Regions from separate parts of the Homo sapiens genome. Here all the other regions are linked to region 2. Evidence: promoter capture Hi-C in 16 types of primary human blood cells and fetal thymus (Javierre and others, 2016). All regions are on one chromosome and are shown on one strand. Each heading gives the region's core, a stretch centred on a gene start or on the middle of the fragment in contact. The rest is flanking DNA. Distances are from core to core; before and after follow the strand shown.

The links. The method cuts DNA at HindIII sites, captures the fragments that hold promoters and counts their contacts. A CHiCAGO score of 5 or more calls a contact.
Region 1: a fragment that was not itself captured here is called in contact with the fragment with the promoter of TAX1BP3 in region 2 in 2 of 17 cell types (monocytes and fetal thymus); the score reaches 6.3 in monocytes.
Region 3: a contact is called between a fragment that was not itself captured here and the fragment with the promoter of TAX1BP3 in region 2, in 2 of 17 cell types (M1 macrophages and megakaryocytes). The highest score is 5.9, in M1 macrophages.

Annotation. Positions count from the first base shown.
Region 1 is chr17:2,783,584-2,787,783 of GRCh38, forward strand. It overlaps a transcript of RAP1GAP2 not described here. Among named protein-coding and RNA genes, the nearest start is that of RAP1GAP2, 11 kb to the right of the region's middle. The HindIII fragment of the contact is 2,791 bases long and covers 69-2,859 here.
Region 2 is chr17:3,665,966-3,669,896 of GRCh38, forward strand. TAX1BP3 (Tax1 binding protein 3) reads right to left here and starts at 2,613. Exons shown (of 4, transcript NM_014604.4): 1 at 2,523-2,613. The coding sequence starts at 2,561. It overlaps EMC6 (ER membrane protein complex subunit 6), which reads left to right and starts at 2,847. Exons shown (of 2, transcript NM_031298.4): 1 at 2,847-2,934; 2 at 3,133-3,700. The coding sequence starts at 3,182. The coding sequence ends at 3,514. It overlaps P2RX5-TAX1BP3 (P2RX5-TAX1BP3 readthrough (NMD candidate)), which reads right to left. Exons shown (of 15, transcript NR_037928.1): 12 at 3,093-3,931. RefSeq lists enhancers at 1,407-1,938, 1,939-2,469, 3,002-3,532, 3,533-3,931 and a silencer at 2,561-2,900. The HindIII fragment of the contact is 10,539 bases long and covers 1,421-3,931 here.
Region 3 is chr17:2,850,769-2,854,746 of GRCh38, forward strand. All of the region lies in intron 2 of RAP1GAP2 (RAP1 GTPase activating protein 2), which reads left to right. Among named protein-coding and RNA genes, the nearest start is that of RAP1GAP2, 56 kb to the left of the region's middle. The HindIII fragment of the contact is 3,571 bases long and covers 416-3,978 here.

The DNA of each region.
Region 1 (4,200 bases), core at 214-2,713, 880 kb before region 2:
CTTGCTTGGTTCAAATTCTGGTCCTGCCAGTGTTCTGGTTATCTAATGCTGCTTAATAAACCACCCAAAGCTTATGGCTTAAAACACTGGTGACACTGATTTTGCCCATGAATCTGCAACATGGGCAGGGTTCAGTGGGGATAACGCTTCTCCACTCAGCATTGTCTGGAGTGTTTCAAGGTCTAGGGGCTGAAGCCATCTGAAGGCTTAGTCGCTCACACGTCTGGCGTTTCTTGCTGGCTGTTGGCTTTGGGTCAGTTCCTCTGCACATGGGCCTCTCTATGTGCTGTCTCCACATGCTAGATTGGGCTTCCTCCCAGCATGGTGGCTGAGCTAAGGGACAAGCATGCCCAGAAAGAGAGCCAGGTGGAAGCTATTTCACTTTTTATTTTATTTGTTTATTTATTGAGATGGAGTCTTGCTCTGTTGCCCAGGGTGGAATGCAGTGGCGCAATCTCGGCTCACTGCAACCTCTACCTCCCGGGTTTAAGTGATTCTCTTGTCTCAGCCTCCCAAGTAGCTGAGACTACAGGTCCATGCCACCACGCCAGGCTAATTTTTTGTATTTTTAGTAGAGACGAGGGTTTCACTGTGTTAGCCAGGATGGTCTCGAATTCCTGACCTTGTGATCTGTCCTCCTCGGCCTCCCAAAGTGCTGGGATTACAGGCGTGAGCCACCACGCCTGGCCTATTTTTATTTATTTAGAGACAGAGTCTCGCTCTGTCGCCCAGGCTGGAGTACAGTGGCGTGATCTCGGCTCACTGCGACCTCCATCTCCCGGACTCAAGCGATTCTCCTGCCTCAGCCTCCCAAATAGCTGGGACTACAGGTGCCTGCCATGACACCTGGCTAATTTTTGTATTTTTAGTAGAGACAGGGTCTTGCCATGTTAGCCAGGCTGGTCTTGAACTCCTGACCTCAAGTGATCCGCCCGACTCGGCATCCCAAAGTGCTGGGATTACAGGCGTGAGCCACCGCGCCCGGCCAGCAGTTTATTCTTTTAGCAGCAGCTACACTTTTGCTCACTGATCCCCTGGCCACAGGTGAGGCTTGGGTCTGTCCCCAGATCCCCGCCTACTCTCATGTAGTCCAGGAGGCATCTTACTGTGCAGAGCCCTGCTGAGGGTGGGGCCCGTAATGAGAGAAGGGGGAACTTGAATGGGAAAGGCCTTTTCTGTCCCAGTTTATTATCTCATTACAGGTCAGCCCTGCTCCCTTCAAGGGGCCTGGGACACATGTTGCTGATGGAGATACCATGAGGGTGGGGCTCAGGCAGAATTGCTCTGGGCTTGGGGCTGGGATGAACCCCACCAGACCCCCATCTTTATCCAGGAAAAATCAAGATGGTGAGGCCTGAACATGCTGTGTTTGAGCTGAGGGAGCTCTCCGCTTCTCCCTGTCCCTGCCGCCTGCTTCCACCTGAGTCACTGTTCATCTGCCTGCGGCATCATCCCCCTGCGGCATCATCCCCCTGCCTCGCTTGCTGGCCTCAGGGAGGAATCTCAGGGTTTGCTCCTTGTGGCCCAGGTTAGGGCTGCTCCTGAGCAGAGCGTTGGCAGGGGGCCCAGGAAGAATCTGGGGGTTTGCACGAGCCCAGCCTGGCAGTGTCTCCCATCTAACGCAGCCCTCATTTAGGGCCTGCTCTCCTCTGAGCCTTCCCTGAAGGAATGGCAGAAGGGCTCAAAGGGGGACTCTGGGTTTGAATTCTGTCACCTTCCAGCCCTGTTAAGGAAGGAGACCACTGCTCCTCCTGCTGCCCTCCTGCCCCCACCTTGCCTAGTTCACAAGATAGGAGGAGAGAAAAAGCAAAAAGTTGGAAAAAAAAAAAAAGTAAGATAAATAGCCAGACAACCTTGGCACCACCACCCGGCCCTAGGAGTTAAAAAAAGTGATAATTATAACATCAACCCCTGACCTAAACTACTTTTGTTATCTGTAAATTCCAGACACTGTATGAAAAAAGCATTGTGAAACTTTTTGTTCTGTTAGCTGATGCATGTAGCTCCCAGTCACATTTCCCACGCTTGCTTGATGTATCACGACCTTTTCACGTGGACCCCTTTAAGTTGTAAGCCTTTAAAAAGGCCAAGAATTTCTTTTTCGGGAAGCTCGGTTCTTAAGACGCGAGTCTGCCGATGCTCCCGGCCGAATAAAAACCTCTTCCTTCTTTAATCCGGTGTCTGAGGAGTTTTGTCTGTGGCTCGTCCTGCTACACTGTGACCTTGGACGAGTCTCTTAACCTCTCTGAGGCTCCAGTTACTTACCAGGAGGGAGACTGTGGTATGGTAAAGATGAAAGGAAGTAAAAAGTATGACTTTTTTTTTTTTTTTTTTTTAGACAGAGATTTGCTCTTGTTGCCCAGGCTGGAGTGCAGTGGTCAGATCTCGGCTCACCGCAACCTCCACCTCCCGGGTTCAAGCGATTCTCCTGCCTCAGCCTCCTGCGTAGCTGGGATTACAGGCATGTGCCACCATGCCTGGCTAATTTTGTATTTTTAGGAGAGACGGGGTTTCACCATGTTGGCCAGGCTGATCTCGAACTCCTGACCTCAGGTGATCCGTCCGCCTCGGCCTCCCACAGTGCTGGGATTACAGGCGTGAGCCACCGCGCCCAGCCTGGAGTTATTCTTTACAGATGAAAAACCTGAGGCAGAGGGAGTTTAAGTGGTTTCCTCACAGCTACATTTAATGTCAGGACTGGGGCTGGAATCCGTGTGTTCTGACACCAGGTGGTGGTTGCTTATCTTTTGCAGGAGGAGGATTTCCCCCTCCCTTCAACCCCTTCCGCCAGAGGGCAACATGGCTGCCATCCTAGAAACAAGCCCAGGAAGACGCTCCCTTTCCTCCTCGCACCACCCAAGCTTGCCTGCAGAGGGCGCAAACGCCCACCTTCTGGCCGGTCCTGGGAGGCGCCAGGTGCCCCGCCTTAGCAGGGGAGGGCGGGAGTGACCCAGCTGGGTGGGTGTGGGCAGAGTTGGCTGTGTGTTCTCCTTTAGTGAGAAGCTCCTTCAGACAGCCCCCACGGTCCAAGCCTTTCTTTTCTTTTTTTTTCTTCAATTTTTTTTTTTTTTAATGTTTTGCGATGGAGTCTCACTCTGTTGCCCAGGCTGGAGTGCAGTGGCGTGGTCTCGGGCTCACTGCACCCTCTGCCTCCCGGATTCAAGCGACTCTCCTGCCCCAGTCTCCTGAGTAGCTGGGATTACAGGCAGGTGCCACCATGCCCGGCTAATTTTTGTAGTGTTTAGTAGAGACGGGGTTTCACCATCTTGGCAGGGCTGGTCTCAAACTCCTGACCTCAAGTGATCCACCCACCTTGGCTTCCCAAACTGCTGGGATTACAGGCGTGAGCCATCGCTCCCAGCCTTTTTTTTTTTTTTTTTTTTTTTGAGATGGAGTCTCGCTCTGTCCCCAGGCTGGTGCGCAGGGGCGCGATCTCTGCTCACTGCAACCTCCGCTTCCCGGGTTCAAGCCATTCTCCTGCCCCAGCCTCCCAAATAGCTGGGGTTATAGGCGCATGCCACCATACCTGGCTAGTTTTGTAGTTTTTAGTAGAGACAGGGTTTTACCATGTTGGCCAGGCTGGTCTCGAACTCCTGACCTCAAGTGATCCACCCCACCATGGCCTCCAAAGTGCTGGGATTACAGGTGTGAGCCACCATGCCCAGCTTTGGTTTTTTTTTTTTTTTCTTTTTTTTTTTCGAGACAGAGTCTTGCTTTTTGGCCACACTGGAGTGCAGTGGTCTTTACTGCAGCCCCAACCTCCTGGGCTCAAGTGATCCTTCCACATCAGCCTTCTAGGTAGCTGGGAATACAGGTGCACAGCACCATGCCTGGCTAATTTAAAAAAATTTTTGTACAGATGGGGTCTTACTATGTTGCTGGGACTGGTCACAAACTCCTGGGCTCAAGCAATCCCCCTGCCTTGGCCTCCCAAAGTGCTAGGATGACAGGTGTGAGTCACCACACGCTGAGCCTGTTTTTTTGTTTTGTTTTGTTTTTTTTGAGATGGAGTCTTGCTCTGTCGCCCAGGCTGGAGTGCAGTGGCGCCATCTCAGCTCACTGCAAGCTGCCTCTCCCAGGTTCACGCAATTCTCCTGCCTCAGCCTCCCGAGTAGCTGGGAATACAGGCGCATGCCGCCACACCTGGCTAAGTTTTTGTATTTTCAGTAGAGATGGGGTTTCACCATGTTGGCCAGGATG
Region 2 (3,931 bases), core at 1,363-3,862:
AAACGAGTGTTCTGGGGCATTCCCACCATGCTCTGGGGTGTTCCCACCATGCTCTGGGGCTATGGTCCCCAACTGTGCCAGGTTCTTTTCAAAGCCCTTGGCAAGCGCCGTCCAGTCAGCAGATGCTGGGAGCCAGACCAGATCACTCCCAAAGTCAAGTTTTAACAGGAAGGAGAAAAGAAAAAAGCAGAAGACCACAATCTAGACTAGACCTAAAGAAGTTTCCCAAAGGGAGGATTATTTGCACCAGGCTTTGAGGGGGTGATGGGTAGCCTGACCTTGATCCTGAACCCACTGGAGTTCTCAGGAACGGAGTAGGGTAGGGCATGGTCAGGTTTGCTGCTAGAATGACCACTCAGGTAATCAGTAGAGGAACGGACATCTCACAAAAGCAAGGTGCAGAGGCCGGGGGACATGGAGCTACCTGAAAATGGAGATCTACAGACTTAGGGACCACTCATGGAGGAGAGGAGTCAAGAGGAGCACCCAGCCACCGTGCCTGGCTGAACACACATTATTCAGATGGGGACCCAGGAGGAGGAGGAGCAGGTTAGGTTGGAGTGCCAGGAGCTGCGGGGCAGGTGTCCAGAAGGCAGATGGATCTATGGAGCCAGGGTTCAGAAGAATGGCCTAAATGTCTTTAATATTCTCAGGATTCTACATGGGAGAGGGTGGGGACTGGGGAGTGAGCCTGCCCAAACCCATCCCCAATCCAAGACTCGAGGGAGAGGCCAGACCATACACACCATGTCCAGGCACGTTCCTGGTGTTACCAGAATTAGGGGGCATGGGCCTGCAGTTTTGGGGAAGGCCCTGGGACCAGTTATGGCGTGAGGGAGGGGGGCAGGAAGCATGAGGCCTACTGTGCCTGGGTCCTCATGCCCCAAACTGAGCTCCTCCAGGCCTGCTCTGCCGGCACGGTCAGAAGATTACAGGCCCTTGGGTTGGGAGACAGGGCTGTCACTGATTTGCTGGGTGAGGTCACGCAGAAGGTGGCTTGCTGTAGCTCCTCACCTGTCCCTGCCCCCCTTCTACCTAAAGAGCAAACCTGGTGCCTTCTCTCTGGGGCAGGTAGGGATCTAAAAAAGCCAGGCTGGGCCGGGTGTGGTGCCTCACGCCTGTAATCCCAGCACTTTGGGAGGCTGAGGCAGGTGGATCACCAGAGGTCAGGAGTTCAAGACAAGCCTGGCCAACATGGTGAAACCCCGTTCTACTAAAAATACAAAAATTAGCTGGGCATGCTGGTGCATGCCTGTAATCCCAGCTACTCGGGAGGCTGAGGCAGGAGAATCGCTTGAACCCAGGAGGCGGAGGTTGCAATGAACCGAGATCGCGCCACTGTACTCCAGCCTGGGCGACAGAGCAAGACTGTCTCAAAAAAAAAAAAAAAAAAAAAGTCAAGCTGGTGCAGGGAGGGTGAAGCTTAGGACAGCTGTCAGCTGGTCCAGCAATGTTTCCTCCTGGCCCAGGCCTGAGCCAGTGCTCTAAGCTCAGCCTCACTTGTCGCCTTTATCAGTGGCTTCTCTGCCTCCACCCACCTGATTGCTGGAGCTTCTCCAGCACACCCAACTGAGATAACACACCCAGTCCCTATGGCTCCAGGGCGGGGACTTTCGCTTGACCTACTGCCCACCGGGCAGGCATTTCTTCTCATTCTCTGAACGCTGTCGGGAGGTAGGCAGGAGACCTGAGTCTTTCCTGAGGTGGTCTTTTCTGGCTGAGCACTTCTCTCTGGGACTCCCCACCTCTGTCATAGGGTTGTGTCCCTCTGTGACACCGGCGTCTGAGTCTAACGTCCCAGCCTTCCTTCCTCCCTCTGCCTAGTCTAATAGCACCCAGCACCTAAAACAAGCCAGAGGGCGGCCAGGGGCCTAGGCTAGCCCCCGGAGGGTCTACTCAGGACTCAAGTGCCAGGAGGGAGGCCTGGACTTTTTTGCCTTAAGGGCTGGAGACCCAGGAAAAGTTCGAAGAGGAAACGCTCATCGCAGCTATACGAGCGTCCACCCTGGACCAGGCGGCGAGTGGGTTGGAGGAGCAAGGCTGGACAGGAAGGGGGCAGGGGCTGCCACGGCAGGCTCGGGAGAGCCCCACCCCCAGATCTCCCTCCGGGCGGCGGCGCAGGCTGCAGCGGAGGAAGCATTTCCTCATTCCAGAGGCTGCGACTCATGGACGTCGGGATCGGCGCCCGCCCCCAGCAGCTCCCCGTCTGGGGACACGGAGGCCCGGGAAGGGGGCGCTTTTCCAGGCTCCTGCAGCCAGGCCTTTCCCCGTGGCCCTCCCCGCCCTGCGCACGCAGTCTGGGCTCTGTCCAGGGTCTCGGGAGGCTCTCGGGTCCCGGCCATCCCTGTTTCGTGGCTGGGGGAACTGCGGCCCGCTCCGGCAAAGCGGGGACCCGAGCCCTTGCCGCCGGTTCGCAGGAGCCCCGGGTTCGATGCTCTGTCAACCTGCTTGGGGTGTCCGTTTCCCGCTCTGCGAGGTGGGGTCAGGCCAAGACGAGGAGGAGCCCGCGCAAGCGCACTCACCACCACGGCGGTGACCGGCTGGCCCGGGATGTAGGACATCTCGACCCTGCTCTGGTCGCCCAGCGCCGCTCCGAGAAGCCGGCAGCAGAGTACCCGCGGTCGCGCCCTCGCTGCTTAACAAAGGCCGCCCCGCTCGGCCCGCCCCCTCATGAATAGTTAACAAACCTCCAGCCAATCACTGGCCGGAGCGCCACTCCGCTTTCGGAAGTCCCTGCGCGTGCGCAGAAAAGCGGGCAGAGGGCGGAGCGTGTCCGGGGCGCCCACGGCGCAGGCGCGGAGGGCGGGGCGGGATCTGGGCGCGTGCGCAGCCCGAGACCTCCCGGCAGTCTTCCGAGCAAGATGGCGCCGCGGGCATTTCTTCCACTGCCCGTCTGAGGGAACGCTAAGTAGTGTGTCCGGCGCCGTGTTCCAGGTAACTGGGCCACCGTGGCCGGGGAACGCAGACGCGCCACCACCTCCCGGCCGGCCCGGACCCTCAATCTCCTCGGCGTCTTTGGAAGATCCGAGGCCCAGGACTGGTGCCAGGTCTCGGAAGCTCCAGGGGGAGGGGGCGGCGTGAACCCAACTCACCGAGCTCCGGGCGCCACTTGTAACTTGGTTTTCTCCGCAGCTCCGCGTTGTTCCGCGAGAAAGCGAGAGGCCGAGCCCGGGCTGGTGCGATGGCCGCGGTGGTGGCCAAGCGGGAAGGGCCGCCGTTCATCAGCGAGGCGGCCGTGCGGGGCAACGCCGCCGTCCTGGATTATTGCCGGACCTCGGTGTCAGCGCTGTCGGGGGCCACGGCCGGCATCCTCGGCCTCACCGGCCTCTACGGCTTCATCTTCTACCTGCTCGCCTCCGTCCTGCTCTCCCTGCTCCTCATTCTCAAGGCGGGAAGGAGGTGGAACAAATATTTCAAATCACGGAGACCTCTCTTTACAGGAGGCCTCATCGGGGGCCTCTTCACCTACGTCCTGTTCTGGACGTTCCTCTACGGCATGGTGCACGTCTACTGAAATGGGGGCCCGGGGGACTTTTTTAAAAAACCAGATCGGGAGGACTGTGGCCAGCAATTAACACCATGTAGACTTCCTTAGTTCTTAAGTGGTTGAATTCGCTGCTTGTTCTGTAACGTTATAAATAATTTATATCTGAAGACGGAGAGCCTGTAATATTCTTCAGATTAAATGAAGCGTGAGACACTTTGTGGAGTTCTTTCCTGCTGTAACGCTTAGGCTGCCACTGATGCAAAATCGCCGAGATTTGACTCCTGGAGAGCAAGGAATGGGCCATAGCCTTGTGTTAAGTCCTTGTATTTACACATAGGCCATTCAGAAACGGGCCCTAAGGGCCTACATAAGGAAAGAACTTATTAACATCCTAAGAAGCAGTAACAGTTAATATGTATTAAGAGCTCCCTGGGCCGGGCACGG
Region 3 (3,978 bases), core at 951-3,450, 820 kb before region 2:
AATTAAGTAAAGGCCAGGCGCGATGGCTCACACCTGTAATCCCAGAACTTGGGAGGCCAAGGCAGGCGGATCACCTGAGGTCAGGAGTTCGAGATCAGCCTGGCCAACATGGCGAAACCCCGTCTCTACTAAAAATACAAAATTAGCCCGATGTGGTGGCGAATGCCGGTAGTCCCAGCTACTCAGGAGGCTGAGCCAGGAGAATCGCTTGAACCCAGGAGGTGGAGGTTGCAGTGAGCCAAGACCGTGCCATTGCACTCCAGCCTGGGCGACGAGCAAAACAACGTCTCAAGAAAAAAAAAAAAAAAAGTGAAAAAGTAAGTTGATGTAATTAAAGCAAAATTATAAACAGCAGAGCAGCATGACACTAAGACAAAGAATTATGAAGGAGGTGGCGTGTGGCCCAATTGTGGGAAGCTTTGGCTGGGCTAACTGCACACACTGGCTGGAAATGGTCTTCTTTTGAGGTTTGGAGTGTGTTAACCCTGTTTGTTTCGGGCAGGGATGGTCTTCCATTTTTCTTTCTTGCCCTGGTCTCTTGCATAAAGCTGGACATACTGTACATGTTTAATAAATGCTGGTGGAATGGGTAAGCCTAGCATTGATGGTTGTTCCAGTCTCTGCTATTGATGGGTTTTCTTGTGCTTTGGGGTCCCCTCTGTGGGGTGTGGGTGTGATGGGCTGTGGGGGCTGGAGTGGGAGTTAAGAGGGGAAATTGCTGTTTATGCACCAAAGGTGGCGAGCTTGTAGGGCAGGGGCAGAAGGATGGGACCTCTCACTGCCAGGAAAATTCTACCTCTTAGAGACTCAGGAGTCAGGGGCTGAGAGGTTACGATTTTTTGGGGGACAGCCTTGTGTTTGCAGTGACACTGGGCTTGTAGAAGGACTTAGAGGGCTGGGAACCCCAGAATAAGAGAATGAATAATGGAACCTGCATGGTGGATTTTGTGCCTTCATCATCCCAATTCCCTGTTGTAGTTGTTTGGAGAGGTGGGGTCTCACTATGTTGCCCAGGCTGGTCTAGAACTCCTGGTCTCAACTCAAGTGATCCACCTGCCTGCCTCGGCCTTCCAAAGTGCTGGGATTACAGGTGTGAGCCACCCTGTTACCCACTGTGCACTTGACCTGAACTAGCTCCCACACTCTCACCTGCTGGGAAGGAGGATCAGGCCTTCCGTTGAGGTGCAGCCTTCTGTGTGTGGGTAAAATACACCCAACGCTAGGATAGACCTAAGCCAGCGCCCTCATCACCTTCCCTGCCATCTAACTGAAGCGGTCCATCAGCTAACCTGTGGGTCCTCGGGTGCTGTGTGCTATAGCGCGGTGGGAGAGAGGGGAAGAGAAGCTCTGGGTTGCATGCTGCTGGGAGCTCTTCCCTTTTCTCTACCAAGGACACTCATTTTATTCTTTTTCCAGACCAATTCTTAAGTCACTACTGGCATAGTACTTGCAGCCTGCCTAACCGCCAATCTCAGGAGTGGGGCCCGGGTCATTCAAATCTCTAGCTATAAAAAGATGTCCATGGCTATCTATATCTCTGATCCCCCACAACCCCGGCAGGGAGGGGGTGGGGGTGGGGGTGGGGGGCACAAGGCCAGTGGTAACGGCTGCTTCATAAATAGACCAGGTGCATTTAAGAACCACCCTGGGGCTTCCTCCCCTCCACCCCAACTCCAGTGCCAGCAGGAAGCTGTGGGCATTGGAGAGGCAGGGCTGAAGCCTCAGGCCCTCGAATTCGTTTGCAGTCCCTCTCCCCTCTCCACCCAGCATGGTCCCCTCCCTGCCTGGATTTTCTGTGTTTGCTTGAACACCAGACTATTAAAAACAAAACAAAAAACAAAACAACAACAAAAAACAAGGCAAATTGCCTCAGGGGGAACCTCTTCGGCCCCAAAGATGGACTAATTGGCTTGTTCTAATTCCTTTCAGCCCCCTGCCCACTTCCTTTTCCCTAGAGGGGCAAAGCTGTGAGTGATGCTTCGGAGGGGTGAGGCGGGAGGGGGCTGGGAGGCTGGGCAGCACCTGGAAGTGGATGAGGGCGATTGTGAGCGAGGCCCCGCGCCGATGGTAGGGACCAGGCCACAGCCCTTTCCCCAGGAGCCGGCGCGACCTTCCGACCTTCCGACCTTCCGCCCTTCCTTTCCGAAGGAGATGAGGCTCGCGCGCGGCTGGCAGGGGCGGGAGGGACCACGCGACGAGTGCGCAGCGGCCAGGCCCGGGTGGGCGCGGGGAGGGCGGAGTGGGGGGCGCCCGGCCCGCCAGGAGGAAGCGGGGTCGCCGTGAAGTTGGTTATTGAACCCATGTGGAGTCAAACTCCCAGGGCCGGGAGAGCCAGTGTTCGCGGGGAGCCGACCCCAGCCCACTCTGCATCCCAGCTCGGCGATCCTTGCGCCGACTCTGCGGGGAGGCGGGGGCAGAATTCCGCCTCGTTCCTCCCATCCGCAAGCTCCCACCCGGGGACCCGGGCCCGGGAGCTGCGAGCCGGGGCGGGCGCCGGGCTCAGGTGCCCCCTGTAAGCGCTGGGCGGCCGGGAGGGGACGGGGACCGCGCGCGGGCAGTTTCGTTTGGACGGAGGAGGACGCGCGTTTCCTCTTGGTGCCTGTTTTCTCTCCCTCTGTTTTAAAAGCAGTGACAGCATCGGGGAAGTATCCGGGGCCGGGCCGGGGAGGGCGGCAGCCGCCTCTGCCTGGGGAGGGAGCTCGGGGCCGCCGGCGGGAGTGCGGGCGGGGACCAGAAGGAGCGGGCGAGGGGAGGCAGGGCCGGGGCCGGGGAGGGCGCCTGGGAGCCGGGCAGGGGGGTCCCGGGAGCGCTGTCCGCCTCCTCCTGCGCTTCGCCCGCTCCCTGTGCCCCGCGTCCTCCACCATCCGGGCGGCCGAGGCCGGGGCGCGGGAGGCGGGGCCGGGGCGGGTCCCGGCGCGGGCGGCGCGTCTGAGCGGGAGCCGGGAGCCGCCGGCCCGGGCCGCGCCCCGAGCGAGCCTCGGAAATGCCCGCGCCGGGGGAGCGGACGGCGGCTGCCCCGCGGGCCCCGAGGAGACGCTGAAGGTCGCCGGGAGGGAGGGGAGAGCGCGCGGTCACCTGACCCCCGGGGCGCACCTAGGCGGGGCGGGGCCCATGCGAGGCGGAGGCCGGGGGCCGGGGCGCGGGCTCAGGGGCCGGGTGCGGAGCGCGCGGAGCCGGGGCTGCGGGGACGCGGGCGGGCGAGGTCGGGCACCGCGGGCGGCCTCGCCATGTCCCAGCCCGCGGGGAGGAGGCATTGCCGAAAGGCGGGGATCCGCGCCGCCGTGGTGCTCATCGGACTCCTGCACAAATCCCGGAGGCAGAATAAAGAGAAAAGGTAAACCCCTGCAGCGCCGGCCGCTTCCCTCCGCTCTCCTGCTGCATGCCAGTTTTCTTTGGGGTGGACTTTTCCGATGGGTGTTTGGTTCCGTGTTGGTTAGAAAAAAGCCTCCTCTCCAGGTACCGTCGTGCGAACCGAGTTCGGAGCTTCGCCCCGGACCCTGGCTGGTGCGAGGAGCCTGGGCAGGACCTTGGCGGAATCGGAGGGCCGCTGGGAGGGCGCATCGGGGTGGATCCCTGACGGAGGGACCCCAAGTCCGTCGCCCCCAGACCCTTTGCAGACCGCGACCCCGTTCCCCAAGCCTGCAGCCGCGGATGCCATTGATCCAGCCCAGGCGGCTCCATGCGCCGGTGTTGCCATTTGCTTCCTGCAACTTGGCTGAGCCCTCGAGGTGCCTGCCTGGCCGAGATCCGCTTGCTCTGCGCTCGGTGCCGGCAGGCGAGGAGCAAGTTTGGAGGTTGTTCGCTCCCCACCCACCCTCTCGCCCCACCGCCATAGGGTGACTTTGCCTCTTCGCCTTTCTGGCGTTTGTTCTTTCGTTTGCTCCTGGATATTGAAAATAGTTTTCTTTAGCTATTTCAGAGACATTTTGGACGACCTGTGTGGTGGGAGGTGTGGGGTTTGGAGTAGGCAAAGGAGGT